Regions from separate parts of the Homo sapiens genome. Here region 2 is linked to region 1. The links are contacts of gene promoters, found by promoter capture Hi-C in blood cells and fetal thymus (Javierre and others, 2016). All regions are on one chromosome and are shown on one strand. The core of a region is centred on a gene start or on the middle of the fragment in contact, and the rest is flanking DNA. Distances in the headings are between cores, read along the strand shown.

The links. The method cuts DNA at HindIII sites, captures the fragments that hold promoters and counts their contacts. A CHiCAGO score of 5 or more calls a contact.
Region 2: a fragment that was not itself captured here is called in contact with the fragment with the promoter of PDCD1LG2 in region 1 in 1 of 17 cell types (M0 macrophages); the score reaches 5.2 in M0 macrophages.

The regions. Positions count from the first base shown.
Region 1 is chr9:5,509,117-5,511,816 of GRCh38, forward strand. It overlaps PDCD1LG2 (programmed cell death 1 ligand 2), which reads left to right and starts at 1,415. Exons shown (of 7, transcript NM_025239.4): 1 at 1,415-1,687. The region is part of intron 2 of INCR1 (interferon stimulated noncoding RNA 1); the gene reads right to left. RefSeq lists enhancers at 1-1,162, 1,104-1,183, 1,244-1,303, 1,464-1,513. The HindIII fragment of the contact is 25,064 bases long and covers 1-2,700 here.
Region 2 is chr9:4,938,146-4,940,845 of GRCh38, forward strand. No RefSeq gene overlaps it. Among named protein-coding and RNA genes, the nearest start is that of JAK2, 46 kb to the right of the region's middle. The HindIII fragment of the contact is 6,163 bases long and covers 1-2,700 here.

The DNA.
Region 1 (2,700 bases), core at 165-2,664:
TTCAAGCGATGGGACGAAAAGAGGATGCAGGACAAGGAGGAGGAAAGGAGATCCTTGCTTTTGTAGAAGAAACAAGGAGGCAGGGAAGGCTTAGAGGACAGGCAAGGAGAGATGTTTTCTTAAAAACATCCTCTGTCTGAGTGTTCAGCCCCACATCTCTGCTGGTCCTACCCCTATAAGCACAAGGAAAAGGGCGGGAGGCAGCAGGAGAAGGATTGATCATTCAGGCCTATATTCAAGTTTGCCTTTTCTTGCCATGTGGTTTTAATCTCACCAATCACAAGCCTGAAGGTATAGTGGGGCCACTGAGGTCCGAGTTCAAATTCAGCCATGCAACTAAGGAAACATTGTTTGATCTTGGTCCTGTTTTCTCATGTGTAAAATGGGTCTAACTCTAAACCACACATTGCACTGAGAATGAAATGAGGCACTATGAAATGAAGTGAGGTTAGTTGAATAATGTTCCCCCCAAATTCATGTCTACTGAGGACCTCAGAATGTGACTATATTTGGAAGTAGGGTCTACGCAGATGTAGTCTAAATGAGGTCATACTGCATTAGGGTGGGCACTAATCAAACGGATGGTATCCTCATAAGAGGAGAGGAATGTAGAGATACACACAGAAAAGAATGTCATTTGAAGATGGAGGCAGAGATTGGAGTGATACAACTATAAGTCAGGGAATGCCAAGGACTTGAGGTCATGTGTTACAGAAGCCCTAGGAAATGAGTCAATTTCCTGGCACAGCACTAAGACATGCTGGTATTCTTCATTCCATCCCTTTCCCCTATTCCTAAATGTGCTCCAGGGACAATGGGGAAGCTGGAGCACATATAAGAATAGGGGAAAGAGAGGGAATAAAAGGGTATTAAAAACTCTCAAGGTATGTTAAAAAAAAGACTCTCAACAAACCAGGTATTGAAGGAACATACCTCAAAATAATAAGAGCCATCTATGATGAACCCACAGCCAACATCACACTGAATAGGCAAAAGCTGGAAGGATGCCCCTTGAAAACCGGCACAAGACAAGGCTGCCTTCTCTCACCACTCCTATTCACCATACTATTGGAAGTCCTGGCCAGAGCAATCAGGCAAGAGAAAGAAAGAAAAGGCATCCAAGAAGGAAGAGAGGAAGTCAAACTACCCATGTTTGCAGATGACATAATTTTATATCTAGAAAATCCCACAGTCTCAGCCCAAAAGCTCCTTAAGCTGATAAACTTCAGAAAGTTTCAGGATCCCACATGAACATACAAAAATCACTAGTATTCCTAAACACCAACCATAGCTAAGCCAAGAGCCAAATCAGGAATGCAATCCCATTCACAGACAAACTGCTAAAAGCAAAACCAAAACTTTCCAAATAAGCCAGGCTTTCGTCAGTTCCTCAGAACTAGTTCTGGTTTGACTCACTCTCATGTTACGGCAAACCTTAAGCTGAATGAACAACTTTTCTTCTCTTGAATATATCTTAACGCCAAATTTTGAGTGCTTTTTTGTTACCCATCCTCATATGTCCCAGCTAGAAAGAATCCTGGGTTGGAGCTACTGCATGTTGATTGTTTTGTTTTTCCTTTTGGCTGTTCATTTTGGTGGCTACTATAAGGAAATCTAACACAAACAGCAACTGTTTTTTGTTGTTTACTTTTGCATCTTTACTTGTGGAGCTGTGGCAAGTCCTCATGTGAGTAACGAGTGGGTTGAGATACTCTCATACTATTATGTTGTGGACCATGATGAGGCTGCCAGGGTGGGGGAAGGGTGGCCTACCTTCTCTCCACACCATTTGAGGCAAGAGACATTCTGCCTCAGAAATTGTGCTGAGGGGCACAAATAAGCTAATGTCCTCCTGCCCCAGATTTCTCTCACTTGTTCCTATGCATATTGTTCTTGTTGCTCAGTTTTATAAGGTGAGATATTTTCTGCACCAAATATGTGCACTGTAAAATAATATAACTATTCTTAAGATTGTCTCTCAGCTTAGAGTTTTCGGAGGCTTAATGGTGAAGAACTTAAAAATCTGTTTTCCTATGACTGACATCTGTTTGTGATTATCCATTTAGCAGACGGTGATCCCTCCAGGCTGGCCTTTGTTTACAAGCTATGCCTAAGAGGCAGCTGTTGGTGGAGGGGGAACAAAAACAAAAAACCCAAAACTATTATCTTAATAACTTATAGAGGTAATCATTATTGAACAAAAGCATGATTTGGGGACTATGGAAAGGCTTATTCTTTCCATATAAAATGATCAGCGAAAAGGTAGAAAAATTAAACAGAACTGAAATAATTGCTATTGATTGCTCACCGCCTGGATGCACTGAGTAGAAGAGCAAAGGCAATGGGTTCATGTGGAGGGGATGGAGGTGGAGAGGCTAAGCCTGAGTGAGATTACCAACTAATCAGGACTTTTAACCCAAAAATACTATGGCTCTGAGGGGCAGGGAATGAGAGACCTAAATTGACAAAATGCAGAGTAAAAATATTCAGTGTGAGCAGTAATGAGACAGTTGTATCAGGGTCAAATACGGAGTTGGCCTGGATGTCCTCCAAGCTCCTTTCCAAGCCTAAGATTCTGTGAGTGGATGAACAATCCTGGTCCTGCTGCTCTTGCCACTGGAACCTGATCTATTTGCCTTCATTATTTGAGGTCTCCCCATCATCAGGCTCTTTGTTGTCTGCTGCTTCAGGGTGTCTTCT
Region 2 (2,700 bases), core at 140-2,639, 570 kb before region 1:
TACTTAATGGAAATTTTTGAGATCCATCATTTCTAAAGATGAAGAGAAGAGGCTGTGTAGCCACCAAATGCTTGCTGGCCCTCTAACGCCTAAAGTGCTACATTTATTTATTATAAGAATATAGAGATAATAAGACTGTTTATGAATTACAAATCAATAATGAAATAACTCTTGGGCTAAGGACAAAATCAAATGGAAATTATAAATCACATAAATATGAATGGGCACAGAAGCATTACTCTACAAAATCTGTGGGGTATGGTCAACATGTTGTTCAGAGGGAAATCTATAGCTTTCAATGTCCATATCAGAAAAGAAGAGACATGGAGAATAAATTAACCAAACTTTCAAATCAAAATTTAACTTCCTAATTCAACCATCAAACAAACAAACAAACAAACAAACAAACAAATAAAACACAAAGTAAAGAGAATGGAAAAAAATGTAATGGCAGGAAATAATGTGATAGAAAAGGATAATAGAGGCTGCTGAACTTGAGGAAATCCTCCTTTTACACAACAAGGATGTCAGCTGCCCAGACTCTGACTTGGAGACTCACCTCCCAGCCCAAGGAATATGCGTTATGAGAGTAAGAAATACATGATTACACCTCTGCATGGATGACTGCAAAGGGGACAATAATAACTAACAATAAGACCCATGTGTCAAGCATTATGCCAGGCAGCTTATATAAATTATATGGTTTAGTTGTATTTCTTCCTCATTTTCTGATAAGAATATTGAAACACAGGATGGCCTAGTAATTTCCTCAATACTGAGGGACAGTAATTAATGTAGCTGGAACTTGAACTTCAGAAGGGTTATTAAGTGGGGTTTAATTTACCACATGTTGTTAAAGATGCCATTGGCTTTAGAAACATCTTGTTTTGAAAATTCGTATCTGTTTGGGAAGATCATGATACTATCAGTCGGTCATGCTTTAGAGTGAAATGGTTCAAACAGATTGCTTTCCTTTCAACAGCTAGCTGAGGTTAGCTGTGTTAAGAGAATGGGAGTTTTGAAGTGGTTAAAGAGAAAGAAGTAATGCAGGAGTGGCACTGCTTAGAGGCTAACACCCCCATCGGAATACTGGGCAGCTGGTAAGCAAAAGTACAGAAAGGGAAGTGAGAAGATGCCAAAGATAAACTCTATTTCAAAATTCTGACTATGGTCAGCCCCACCCTCAAGAAGAGAGGGACAGGTTCTTCCTCTTTTTCTGTCCTGTACAAAGCAATCTCCTATTCCCAGGACCAGGAAGTTCAGGTCCAAGGGCCACTCTAAGGAAAATAGAGTTGGAAGGGACTTTAGGGGTCCTATCCAGTCTACTCACCACAAGGCCTCCCACACCCTCCTGCATGAATCCTCCAAACTCCTCCTGACCATCTTTGCATCTTTGTTGCTCCTTTGTTGTCTATTTGGGGCTCGAGTTAGTTGTTAGAAATTCCTTTCTATCAGCCAACAATCTTATCTCCCTTCAACTTCCCCTCATTTGTCTTATATCTGCCCCTGGAATTGCCCAGTCTGTGTGGTATTTGTTCCAATGGAATTTGATCTGTCATATACTGTTGCTTTTGGCTGATTTGCTAAATTGACTGGATCTCTCTCTAAACTCAATGATTTGGATCAAGGTAAATGCTGGTAAAATGTGCCAGCAATTTCTTTTTCAGAAAGATCTTGCTATTGCTCTGTTACTTTTGTTTGTTTGTTTTTTTTTAAAGAATGTTCCCAATAGATTCATTTTGAGGGAATAGATTCACCTATGAATCCATGGAGTGACCCACACAAAACACCTACATAAAAAAGAAACAAAAAGAGTATGTTTTCTTACTGACAAACACTACTTGAAAGCTCTTCAAGTCCTTCGTGGTATAATAAAGTAAATAGATATTGAGAAGAAGAGATCATCTAGTTAACAAACATGGAAAAATGTTCCACCTCACTTTTAATTTTAAAAGTGATAAGATACCCCTTCCATTCATTTGGCTACAAAGCATAGCAACATTTATAATAATATTTAATGTTTGTTAGTACTATAGTACATTACCAGTAGAATTAGAAACGTCTTTTAGAAATTGATTTAGCTATATGTATTGAGATCTTTTAGTTTTATTTATTTAGTAATTTTTAGAGGCAGGGTCTTGCTATGTCGCCCAAGCTGTTCTTGAACTCCTGAGCTCAAGGGATCCTTTTGCTTCAGTCTCCCAAGTAAGTAGAATGACAGGTGCAAGCCACTGCACCTGGCTATCAGGAGATTTTAAAATATTCTCATCCTTTCACCTAGTAGAATCTCCTGGGTATTTGTACTAAGGAAATAATCCAGAGATTAAAAAAATATGCCTACGGTTTGCACTTCTCACAGGAAAATTATTCATAATAGTGAAAAATTAGTCACAGCCTAAAATCTAACAACAGGAAATAGTTTAACTAGATTATGGTGCATCCACTCAATGGAAGATTATACAGCCATTTCAAATAACGATTATGAAAAAAACATTATATGTAATCTATATTGTCCTAGTGGAAATATCTTAGGTAAGTCAATGGTAGCGAATCAGAAAAATATTGAGACTCAGTAGTTTTTAGCCACATGAAAAATTCTTGCAGTATATAAAAAACAATGTATACAAAGAAATGCACCAAAATTATTATTATGACAGAAAAAGGGTGGGAGAAGTGTTTTTATATTTAATCAAGAGCTGT